Linked DNA regions of Homo sapiens: all the other regions are linked to region 3. The links are contacts of gene promoters, found by promoter capture Hi-C in blood cells and fetal thymus (Javierre and others, 2016). All regions are on one chromosome and are shown on one strand. The core of a region is centred on a gene start or on the middle of the fragment in contact, and the rest is flanking DNA. Distances in the headings are between cores, read along the strand shown. Region 1 overlaps CYBB (cytochrome b-245 beta chain). Region 2 has its middle 18 kb from the start of DYNLT3. Region 3 holds the start of CYBB (cytochrome b-245 beta chain).

What was found. The method cuts DNA at HindIII sites, captures the fragments that hold promoters and counts their contacts. A CHiCAGO score of 5 or more calls a contact.
Region 1: a contact is called between a fragment that was not itself captured here and the fragment with the promoter of CYBB in region 3, in 2 of 17 cell types (naive B cells and total B cells). The highest score is 10.4, in naive B cells.
Region 2: a contact is called between a fragment that was not itself captured here and the fragment with the promoter of CYBB in region 3, in 2 of 17 cell types (total B cells and naive B cells). The highest score is 7.7, in total B cells.

The regions. Positions count from the first base shown.
Region 1 is chrX:37,810,857-37,815,072 of GRCh38, reverse strand. It overlaps CYBB (cytochrome b-245 beta chain), which reads right to left. Exons shown (of 13, transcript NM_000397.4): 13 at 1,612-4,216. The coding sequence ends at 4,156. Among named protein-coding and RNA genes, the nearest start is that of CYBB, 33 kb to the right of the region's middle. RefSeq lists an enhancer at 1,134-1,333. The HindIII fragment of the contact is 5,265 bases long and covers 1-4,216 here.
Region 2 is chrX:37,827,059-37,831,362 of GRCh38, reverse strand. No RefSeq gene overlaps it. Among named protein-coding and RNA genes, the nearest start is that of DYNLT3, 18 kb to the left of the region's middle. The HindIII fragment of the contact is 4,104 bases long and covers 1-3,551 here.
Region 3 is chrX:37,778,360-37,782,680 of GRCh38, reverse strand. CYBB (cytochrome b-245 beta chain) reads right to left here and starts at 2,622. Exons shown (of 13, transcript NM_000397.4): 1 at 2,559-2,622; 2 at 498-593. The coding sequence starts at 2,603. RefSeq lists an enhancer at 2,531-2,580. The HindIII fragment of the contact is 266 bases long and covers 2,487-2,752 here.

The sequences.
Region 1 (4,216 bases), core at 436-2,935, 33 kb before region 3:
TCCAGGTTTTAAAAATCTCTAGTGGTCAGATTTCCTAGCCTCTGTCAACACTTTGTTTTTTGCCCAACTGAATTTATGGTTGAGAAATTTAGCTCCTTCCTCATGCAATCTTATTACACACAGACACACACACACACACACACACACACACACACACACACAAAACTATAGACAACAGCTGGCCATTCTCTGAAAGACAGAAATTGTTTATAAATAAAATAAATATAAATGAAAAAGTAGACTTAATAAATATTATTGAGTCACCCTACAGCCTTCTTTTCTCCAAGCAAAATAATTCCATTTTTTGATAGGTTCTATTTTATCATAATTTAAAAGTAAAAATGAGCATGAATCAGATTAACCAGTGTTTCTAAACTAAGATACCAAGCTACTTAAATGGTATAAACTAGAGATTTATGTTACCACTGTTACCCAGCTATTCTTGGTACATAATTTGTACCTAGCATAATTGCTTTGAAAATATCCTTAGTTTTTGGCCGGGTGCGGTGACTCATGCCTGTAATCGCAGCACTTTGGGAGGCTGAGGCCGGTGGATCACCTGAGGTTGGGAGTTTGAGACCAGCCTGACCAACATGGAGAAACCCCGTCTCTACTAAAAATACAAAATTAGCCAGGCGCGGTAGCGCATGCCTGTAATCCCAACTACTCAGGAGGCTGAGGCAGGATAATCGCTTGAACCCGGGTGGCAGAGGTTGCGGTGAGCTGAGGTCGTGCCATTGCACTCCAGCCTGGGCAACAAGAGCAAAACTCCGTCTCAAACAAAAAGGAGAGAGAGAGAGAGAGAAAGAAAATATCCTTAATTTTTTATACCTAGTGTAATCTGCTAGTGTAGTATAAAGGACATGGAGTTTGTCCCCAGAAAGATGTGGATTGAATGTTGACATAGTCACCCAATAGTTATGGGTACTTTTCCTTCTCATTCATCTTCGTTCAGACTGTTTTCTTATCAACAAAATTAGGATAAAACGGCTACCTTGTAGTGTTGCTGAGGGATTAAATAAAGTGTATGTAAAATGTTCGGCATAGTAGGAGGTGTTTACCAAATGTTGGCTATTTCTATTACTGCCATTTATTTTAGGTAATGTCCTTTCCCTCCATGGCAGCACCTGTTGACTCCCACAGGAACATGTCATGCCCACACCCCTATGCATTTCCTAAATAGTGGAGATCGTAACCGGTTGACTCATTTAGAACAAGGGCTATCACAGAAGCATGAGCATATATGCCCACAATTGCTCACAATTGCCCACAATTGCCCATATTGCCCACAATTGATGATACTCAATTGTGAAGTTAGAACATGAAAGTTCAGTAGACGTGGAACAAAGATGTCACACTGGGGCTTCTTCGTTTCTGAAATTCTGTCTATGACATTAAGTTGCCCTCCCTGTCCCTTATATTAGTGTTGTGAGGATCAACAGTATTCAGCACAGAACTTAGTCTTCAGCTTTCACTTCCCAATCCATAAACCATGAAGTGTTTGGCATATCATATACAGAAACACAGAGTGTCTCAACCCCACCGGGGTAGAGAAAATTGTTACTAGCTGAATTTACCCTTTAATACAAAGATCAGTAACACAGACACAAAGAAAGCTCATTCATTTTAATAGTTGAGCACAGTTTTAAGAATTCCCCGTAGGAATTATCTCCCAGGTCCCCCGCTAGAATTATTCACATACAAAGCCTGCAAGTATTCAAATTTCACAAACACAATTGCAAAAGCAGAAGAACTAAGAAAAACCTTCATAGTCTTAAGATTAAAAACAATGCTTCATCATTCTTAGAGTACCTGTTAATAAATGCTAAATACTAAGTGCTAAAAAAAAAAAAAAAAAAAAAAAGCTAGGCTGGCAGCTGGCTGCTGGTGGCTGGCAGCTGGTGGCTTGAGAGAATAAAAAAGGAAACTTTTATAATGACAAGCACTCTTATATTCATTTTTTATCTCATAACTGGATAACACAGGGCAGATCTCTCTACTTTCATAACTTAGTTGGTTTTGAAGATAGAAAACCTTGGAGAAACACTCTCGGAGCAACAAATGAAGCTGGTTTTAATTATGCACATAGGTTAGAAAGGGCCAATATTCTCAGACTCCTTATAACTGAGGTACCCTCTCCAGTTCATACTTTGGTGTAAAGAATTGAAACAATAAACAGAGCCTGACTCATAGTAATAACACAATAAATATCTGTTGAATAGATGAATTGATACCTGAGGTGCAGTGTGAACAGGCTGGACCTAAGTGTCTCTAAGCAGAAACCATCCTGGTACATTTCAGAAAGGCTATATTCGCACAGCAGGCCTTATTTGTCAGACCTACCCTCAGTGCCCTGAGGATTCTGGGAGACGAAAGGAATAGTAGTATGACAAAGAACAACTGAGTTCTTATTTAGTTCATCCTAGTCCCTTGAATAATCCCCCTCAGCATCAAAATTTGTGACCAGATTTTAAAAGATTCAATACCATAGATAATCAAAACAACATCAATATGTGTATACCTCCTTCAATTATATTCTATACATATCAAACTTTAAGAAATCTGGGGCAGGGAATGACCAATATGAGACCCCCTTCCCCTCTCTCTCCCTTTTGCCTTTTTTATTTTCTCTCACTCTCCCATTCTCTTTTCTCCTTATTTCCTTTTCCTCCTAAACCAGTCTTCTGCCCTTCCCCCAGCTCTTTCTCCTTCTTCCTCATTACCGAAGTTGAAGAGTTCTAAACATTTGTGGCTCCAAGGGGTGGGGCAAATAAAACTGGTTTTAGTTCCCAGAAATGGGAGCAGTTCTAAGAACAAAAAGAAAACCCTGCTCTTGGCCACACTAACAGTGATTTAGAGACTCTCTCTTGAACATATATTCAGAACATACTATTGAGTGTGAATTTGATCTCTGTATAGAGATTTTTGTTTCTGGGTTGTTAATTTTAGGATGATGATGATGATATAATACAAATAAACCATTAGTCACACAGATGCGATCCATTTTGTGTGTGTATTTACGGAAAATAAGGGGTGGGTGTTATTTAAAACAAATGACCATATCAGATACATATTTGTCACAATTCCTAAGTTCAATATTCATAAGGGCTAGCTGGAGAAGACCACTTTGGGCAGGAAATTAGTCTGCATTTATTTTATAGCACAAGGAGCAGGACTAGATGAGCCAGAGTCATGGCAGGAGGTTAATTCTCCACCTCCAACCCTCTTTTTTCATGCTTCAAATAAGAATGTGCAGAACCCTTCAGGCAATCCTATTGGTTAGTATCCTTAGCCTGTTCTTGACCCTAGGGAGAATCAGATTCCTTTGGTCTATGACAGTAATAGAAGTTATTTCTTTAGATAAATTTTGTTTAAGGCTTTAAATTAATTCTATCTTGGCATTGTGTGGTTCTAAATTCATTCATTCATTTAACAAAACTTACTTGAGTATCCGCTCTCTGCCAAGCACAGTGGTAAATGATGAGTATTACATTAACTCCAATCAATCCAATATTCTTCTGTAGAAAGAACATCTGGCCCAGTTACCCTGCTGTATTAGTAAACTGGAGTATGCTCAGATGTCAATACTGTCACTAATAAGTGTTGAGACACTCTCAACATGTATTATGTCCTAATGATCTGGAAAATTTCCTTCAGTATGATAATAATGATGGCAAAAATGACACAAAGTAGAAATATATAGCTACTCCTTGGTTTCCTTCTTCTTTTGGGGAATATAAAAACTGATTTTGAGGATTCTGAGGCAGCTCAGTATTGTGGAAAGAGTATCAAACCTGGAGTAAGATGGGCTAGATCTGGTCACAGTTTCATAATCTTAGGGAAGTTACTGAACCTTTTGATCCTTTCCCTTTTGATTCTAAAATTGAGTCCAAGAATCTTTTCCCTAACTTCCACTGACATTACTGAGAGGAAAAAAATGAAATAATGTTTGTAAAAGTGCTCTCAAAACCATAGAGCTCCACATAAATGTAACTTATCACTATCAAACAATCTTTGACATTCCTTTAAGGGAAAACCATTACATTATAGTTTCTTTTTGTCCATTTTTAAGCAGGGGGTATTTATATTATCAATTAGCATTATTTGAGCATTTGGCAGCACAACCCACATTTATTTCCTCATGGAAGAGACAAGTTAGAAGTTTTCCTTGTTGAAAATGAAATGCACTCCCCGAGGGCCAGACTCAGAGTTGGAG
Region 2 (4,304 bases), core at 250-2,749, 50 kb before region 3:
GTGCTGGGATTACAGGCGTGAGCCACCACACCTGGCCACCATTATTACTATTATTATTATTATTATTATTATTATTTGAGATGGAGTCTCGCTCTGTTGCCCAGGCTGGAGTACAGTGGCACGATCTCAGCTCACTGCAACCTCTGCCTCCTAGGTTCAAGCAATAATTCTCCTGCCTCAGCCTCCTGAGTAGTGGGGATTACAGGCACGCACCACCACGCTGGGCTATTTTTTGTATTTTTAGTAGAGACAGTGTTTCACCACGTTGGCCAGGCTGGTCTCTAACTCCTGACCTCAAGTGATCTGCCCCACTCAGTCCCCCAAAGTGCTGGGATTACAGGTGTGAGTCATCAGGCCTGGCCAGATGGAGGCTTCTAAATGGCCTTCTGACTCCACCTCAAACTCTATATATGCTGTATCTAAAAGGGCTTCCTGCACAAGCAATTTTTTTTTTTTTACTTTATAAATAACTGTACTTCCTAATAGCATCACCAATTTGCTTTCCAAAGCAAACACTGTTGACATTTCAGTTCTTTTTTTTTAGTTTATTATTTTTATTATTAAACACTTCCATGTTTCTATCATAGTTCTTATGATTTGTTTCATAATGGCACTTTAAGTTATACTCTGTCAACAGACATCTTTTGCATGTTAAATATGCAGTAATGGAATTCACTTGCTGTATAGTTAGAATGCTTTTAATTAACTTATTTGGAAGTCCAGAAATAAAACATATTTCAGGTTGACTTAATCCTGTGGCCTAAGGTCTGTTTCTCTGTGATTGCTTCATTTGTGTCCCACTGTTTGTTGACTTTATCCTTAGCCTAGCCTACTCTGTTAGTTGACTTTATCCTTAGCCTGATTTTCATCATTGTGCAAAAATGGCTAAAGCAGATCCAGGCTTCCCATTCGTATACCATATTGAATAGAGGAAGAAAGAAAATATATTTGAATAGTTAAAAATAAGAAAATTTCTTTCCCTTAAACCTCTGCTAAGCATTCCTGTGGTGGATAGTGGCCTGCAATAAATCTCTTCTCCTGGTATTCATGCCCTTGTGTAGTCACTTTCTTCATTGACTCTGAACTTGGACATATGACTTGCTTTGGCCAATGAGACATATGATGAAAAAGCAAAAGTTTATTTACACATTGTATTTTTCTCTTTGTGTTCTTGCATCCTTGTCTCTTGGAATGCTCCTCCTTGGAATCTGTTAACCATACCGTAAAGAAGCTCAGGTTAGACTACTGAATGAAGAGAAGTCATCTGAAGATGGACTCCAAAGAATAAAAAGCCACCTTTGGAATTTCTACCTCCTGCCAAACTCCTAGCTAAATGCAGGCACATTAGTAACTCTGTTACACCATGTGGAGCAAAAGAATCTTCCAATTGACTTCTGCCAATCCATTACGTTTTGAGGTTGTTTGTAATACAGAAACAGGAAACAATTTCACAGACTTGCACTGGTAAAAATTAGGTCACTAGCTAGAAAGAATACAGGAAGAAAAAAAAACAAAATTAAGCCACATACCCAATATTGAGCCAATCTCTTAATCTGGAAATTCTATTCATTGACTTTCTTAAATTTGGGCTCCTGAATGATTCATTGTAGCAAGGATAGAATCACATTTAGACCAGAGAAGCATTAGTTTTCCCTAAAGTATATCAAAGATATGGGAGAGCATTAAATACTTAAACAAAAATCAGAGTACTTTTAATGAAAGGTAAGGGGAGTGTTGGATGCTGGCTAAACTATCAGCAATGTAGGCTGGGAGTGGTAGCTCATGCCTGTAATCCCAGCCCTTTGGGAGGCTGAGACTTGAGGATCACTTGGGGCCAGGAGCTCAAGACCAGTCTAGGCAACATAGTGAGACACGGTTTCTACAAAAATTTTAAAAGTTAGCTGGCTGTGGTGGTGTGCACCTGTAGTCCTAACTACTAGGTAGGCTGAAGCAGTAGGATTTCTTGAGTCAGGAGTTTGAAGTTAGAGTGAATGACACTACTGCACTGCAACCTGGGTGACAGAGTGACACACTGTCTCTTAAAAACAAAACAAAACAAAGAAATACTCTCTCACATTATTACTGAAATGTATAGCCATCTTGATCTAATTTGTTTTCCCTCTCGTGATAGGTGTACCAGTATAAGAAGTGTTTGACTTTCTCCTTAACTTTTGTATTGGTTTCCGATTGCCACTTAAACTTGGTGGTCTAAAACAACACAAATTTATTCACTTACAGTTCTGGAAGCCAGAAGTTCAAAATGGTCTTACTGATCTAAAATCAAGGTATAAGCAGAGATGTGTCCTTTCTGGAGCTTCTAGGAGAGAATCCTTTTTCTTGCCTTTTCTACTTTCTAGAGGCTACTTAAATTCCTTGGCTAGTGATTCCTTCTAGCACCCTCAAAGGTAGCAGTGTAGTATCTTCAAATCCCGTTCCTTTCTGACCTCTGCTTCCATCATTTCTGACTCTGAGCCTCTTGTTTTCATATTTCCCTTATTAGGAACCTCGTGATTATATTGGGCCCACCCCAGATATTGTCCCTATACTTAATCACACCTGCAAAATCCCTTTTGCCATGAACATATTGACAGGTTCTGAGGATTAGAATGTGGACATCTTTGTGATGGTGGGGGGTGTATTACTCTGTCTACTACAATTTTATTATCACATGAGGCTCAATGTCAGTGGTCTCTCATTCTAGGTATCAGATAATAGGGAATAGTAAGGACTGTGATAAGTTGGATAGCACACAATTTAGAAACAAGGGCTCAGGGTTAATCTTCCAGTTTTTTCAAAAAATCCAGAAATATCAATTATGATGCACAATCTCTCAATTTCAAAATTTCCATATTTTAGAACATGGTGTTTGGGTTTAAGGAGGTCCAATCAATAGTACATCTCTTTCCTAGTTTAATTCTGAATCAATTGGGAGACAAAGATAAAGATAGCTTCAAATAAAAATATTACCTTTCTGTTCCAGAATGGAACTTATCTCAGGGCAGCTAGTCTTTCTAATGTTAAACTCCAGAATTTGAATTATTGCCCAGTTGAAGGCAGAAACGTGCTCTGCTGGTGAACCAGCTACAAAGAAAAAGGGAAAAAGGAGCCATTTTACCTCTCATGGAAGGAGTGAGGAAATAAAGAAATATCAGGGGTTTTATATGAATTGATAAATCTGTACATAGAGAACGACCTGAAAGAAAACATCACAAGTTGGGGATTAAGCACTGTTCCTTTAATGCTTACCACTGAGTCATATTTTTTTACACACTCTGTAGCCCAACATTATACAGGCCAAAAGAAACATGTCTGTGGGTCACATGTAGCCCATGGGTCATTAATTTGTCGGCGTTTCATAGCTCCTGCAGATTTAGTCTTCTAGTAGCCCCTCTCACTCTACCCCAGCTCCCTCTATTGATTGGGCCATCTGGTCAGACATTGCACTTTTTCCACCAATGGTCAACCGACAAAGGGAAGGAAATGAAGCCAGCTATCATCTGGACTTGAGGCCCCATCAGAACGTCTGGGTGCAACTGCTATTGTAGCAAGCTTGGTAATGTAAACTAGGGAGTTTACATGGACAGAACTAATGTTCTATGAATCATTAGCGTAGTCTTTCTAGAGGGCAATTTGGCAGCATCTGTCAAATTTTTAAGTGCTTATGTTCCATGACCAGAGTATTAGAGATCTATACTACAGAAATAATAACATGAGTGAGAAAAAGAAAAAAAGCAAAGAAGAATTTTCTTTGTAATAACAAATTTAAAAAATGAAAACAACTTTAAAGTGTCCACCAAAAGGGGAAGGGATAAATAAATTATGGAAAAGTAAAGATGAAATATCACTTTTTATTTTATGTATTATATGATTTGAAATAGTTAAACAATTACATATTAATTTTTAGTACTTAATTTAAATTACACAATACATGATATTGTTTTTCAGCCAAAACATCATGATATAACAAAAGCCTAAAATGCCCCTTGCCCTTCATCTTGTCTTCTCTTTGTCCCCCACCTTCCCATGTACTCCCATGAGGTAAAATATACTGTCATTTTGATGTATAAGATTCCAGGCTTTTCTGCACATTTACATGAATAAATGAATGTATTTTTTATTGTAAATAATATATATGATTCTGCAGACTGCTCTTTTTATGGAACAGTATGCCTTGGGGATTTTTTTTCATGTCAGTATATACAGACTCACCTTGTTGAGTTTAGCTGCCATACTGTATCTACAGTATGGATAGGACACAGTTTATTCATTTTCCTATTGATGAACATTTAGGTAGTTTCTACTGT
Region 3 (4,321 bases), core at 1,373-3,872:
TGTCCTAGTCAACAGATGTGGCCCTTGAGCAAGTTCCTCGAGTCTTTATATGTAGAGAGAGATTTATTTTCTGAAGATCATTTCATAACATGTGATTAGGAGCAGAGCTCTTCATGCAAAAAAGTACTAGGAATTAGGTGACTTAGAAAATATGGAAAGTCCCACTTGTCCCACATGTGTCACTCCTGGATGGATTGCTCCAACCTGCCCTTCCATTTCAGAGTGAGTATTAGATTTCTCCTTTAAGCTAAACAATGGCACATGGTTCTTGGTTGGGGAAGGATGCCACTGGGGCCCTCTGCCCCACTTTTGTTGGTCCCAGACTGGAAGGCTTTAAGTGACTGTTGCCCAGGAAGTTGCAATGGAGGGAGTGAGGCTAATGGTACTGTTTGGGTTGGTCAGAATATGTATTTAAAATGCTAACAGGAAGATGAACAAGAATGTCTGATGAGAAATGTGAACCAGCCAATATTGCATGGGATGGAATTTATACTTACCCCAAGAAGTTTTCTTGTGTAAAAGAACTTAGGTGGAATATCATAAACCCGGTAATACCAGACAAAGAGGAAGACGTTCAACCCCAGCCAAACCAGCTGCACAAACAGAAATAATTGCATGAAGTTTCCGCATTTCCACAGTAGATTCCACACAAGACTGGAGTCAGATAAGGGTCAGGACTTCCCCAAGTCCAACTTTGACAAAGGTAGTGACAAAGCTGGATATAACCAGCTTAGAGCCAGCTCTTTCCTCAACAGTGTCACTACACTTGTCTATAATTAAAACCTCTCCACCCTGTGTTGTTCCCCATGATTGTTTTATGATTTGGCCAGTATACCAAATTATCAGTCTTACATTACCCCACTCCCTTTTTTTCCCCTCTCTTTTGCTTAACCTTGGATAGGTAGCTGATAGCAGGCCACTCCACTTAAAATGAGAAAGGAAGGGAACATATTACTATTGCTTTCCCTCCACCAGTATGACACTGCGTTCTGTTCTCACAGGTGCTAATCACCTCCCTCTACCACACAGTAATCCAGCTAGTGAATTCTCATCAGCTAAAATGCCAAGCCTTCCATTTTCCTTGATTAGTTTTACTTAATGCTTCAAGGAGAGAATATTGAGCATAGTGAGGGGCTTGGGATTTACAACAAAAACAGCTTTCTAGATCATGACAGTTCATTTTATCCTAAGCACTGACTGGATCAAGTGGTCACACTACCCAGTTCTCTACCTTCAGCTCCATAGTGATCTTTTCTCAACTATGCTTTGAAGCTATTATATGCTCTAGACACTTGATAATATTCTCTCTTTACAAAGAAAAAAGTGCTAAAGCAACTTCCCAATTTCCTGATCTTGTCATTCTTTCTTTACTCTGACTTTCCAAGCTGTGTTTTCACTTTCAAGTGCATGAGTATATAATTTAGAAGGAGGTCATTTCCTGGGAAAAATTGTGGCGAGAGCTAAAAGTTTAATTTGAACTTACTTTCTATAGAAATTATTTGCCCTTAAAAATGGTGATAAGAAGTTAAGTTTACAGCTTCGAATACTCGGAAGAATTCTCTGTTGCAGTAGAATGTTGGTTTGGCGTAAACATTTTTTATAACAAAATATTTGTTGTTTTTATTTGTGCCACTAATTGCTTTCTATATTTAAAACTCAAAGACTCATTATTTTTCATGATAAATTTTTACAAAAGCTCCATTCATATTCCATTCATAATTGTACTTTTTAACATCTGTGTAATGCTTCTATTGGTTATTTAGAAAGGCTATTTAAAAATCGTATTTCTATCTACCCAATTTGTCCATTATTGCTTTGCTGATAACACCATTTTAAGAGAACAGTTGATTTTCTTTGTTTTAAAAAGTACAGAAATCATTCTGTCCACTTGTAAATTAGCTATATCTTTACTTACATAGTTTCTCCAGACTATATTGATTTATATATATATACAATTATATATAAATATACATACTACATATTTATGAATCTAGATGACTTATTTCAATTCTGTTCTTTTGAATTTTTATAAATCTTATAAATAACTCAAGTTTAGATCTCTGAAAAAAGAAGGTACTTGTTTTTGAAAATAAATTTGAGAAGTTTTATTATATTTAGTGTAATTACTGAAATAAAGGCCTACTTCCCATACATGAGTCAATCTTATATTTTTTATTTAGAAAATGGTATAAAATTTCAATTTGTCATTTTTAAAGTAGTATAAACACATAGACATGTGCGTCTGAGTAAACATTACTAAACAACTCAGAATCAGAGATCATTAGCATGAAATATTTTCTACTCCTTCTGCGAAATGCTGGCTAATTTATTCCTCCTAGGAATTCAGAAGTAAGCTAGAAGTGAGCCCCCAGATATGTTCTTTCCATTAAGGAATTTGGAAGAATGGACTCAGTCTGTTTACAGATAGATATAGGTTCACATGGTAAATCAGTTTCAACACAATTCCTCAAATGAACAAAAAAGCTTTGGTCTATTTTAGTTCCAAGATAACCCCGAGAAGTCAGAGAATTTATAACTTATCTCTTGTTGGTACTTACAATGACAAAAATGGAGAGCCCCTCATTCACAGCCCAGTTCCCCATGGTGGCAGAGGTTGAATGTGTTGTGTTTGCCTTTCTTCTATACTATGCTTCTTCTTCCAATGAGGAAATGAAAACAGCAGCCCTGGGGCAATCGGTTTCCTTTTCTTTTATCAGAAATTGGCTAATAATCATTGGTCAACTGAAAAGCTTGCATCCATAACAAACTTAAATCTTTAAACCTCAACAACTACAAAAAAAGGGTCTATAATGATCCAGTCACAATTAAACATAGTGGAAAATGAAACCAATTTCTACAACTAAGAGATAAATAACAGTGCATTTTAAGGGATGTATTTTACACAGTGAAATAACTTTTTAACTAACCAGCTATTTGATCACAATTTTTAAGCCACTCAACTAGACATGACTTCGTGCTGGGTAAAACACATTAAACAGGTGTGATTTTGACAGGCTGGAACAGCATTCATAGCCTTGCTGAGAAAAGTAGTAACAATTGTAATGGTTGATATTTACAAAATGCTTAATATGTGCCAATTTTATGTGCTATATATGTCTATATATGTGTGTGTGTATGTTCATGTATAGCTATCATATATATATATATATATATATATATATATATATATATAATTTGAAACATACATATATAAATACAGATGCTTTGGCCAATGATGAACCACATGTATGACAGTGGTCCCATAAGATTATAATGGTGTTGGCCAGGCACGGTGGCTCACGCCTGTAATCCCAGCACTTTGAGAGGCTGAGTGGGGTGGATCACTTGAGGTCAGGAGTTTGGGACCAATCTGGCCAACATGGTGAAACCCCGTCTCTACTAAAAATACAAAAATTAGCTGGGCATGGTGGTGGGCACCTGTAGTCCCAGCTACTCAGGAGGCTGAGGCAGGAGAATCACTTGAACCTGGGAGTCAGGTTGCAGTGAGCCGAGATTGTGTCATTGCACCCCAGCCTGGGCGACAGAGCAAGACTCCATCTCTCTCTCTCTCTCTCTCTCTCTCTCTCTCTATATATATATATATATATATACATATATATATAATATATAATATAATATATAATATATATACTTGTGTGTGTGTGCTGAAAAATTCCTACCATCTAGTGACATTGTAGCATAACACATTACTCATGTGTTTGTGGCAATGCTGGTGTAAACAAACCTACTGAGCTGCCAGTTGTAAAAGTATAGCACATACAATTATGTACATTACATAGTACTTGATAGTAAAAATAGATGACTATGTTACTGGTTCATTTATTTACTAGACTATACTTTTAATCATTATTTTAGAGTATACTCCTACTTATAAAAAAGTTAACTGTAAAAGAATCTCAGGCAGGTCCTTCAGAAGGTATTCCAGAAGAATGCATTGCTGTCATAGATGACAGCTTCATGCATGTTAGTGCCCTTGAAGACTGTCCAGTGGGGCAAAATGTGGAGGTGGAAGACAGTGATATTAATGATCCTGACTTTGTGTGGGCCTAGGCTAATGTGTATGTTTGTGTCTTAGCTTTTAACAAAAATGTTTTAAAGGTAAAATATAAAAATAAAAAATTTAAAAACAGAATAAAGCTTCTAGATATGGATATTAAAACATTTTTGTACAGCTGTAAAATTTTTTTTGTTTTAAGCTTAGGGTTATTACAAAAGAGTCAAGAAATTAAAAAAGCAAAAGTTTATAAATAAAAAGTTACAGTAAGCTAAATTTATTTCATTATTGAAAAAACAAAATGTT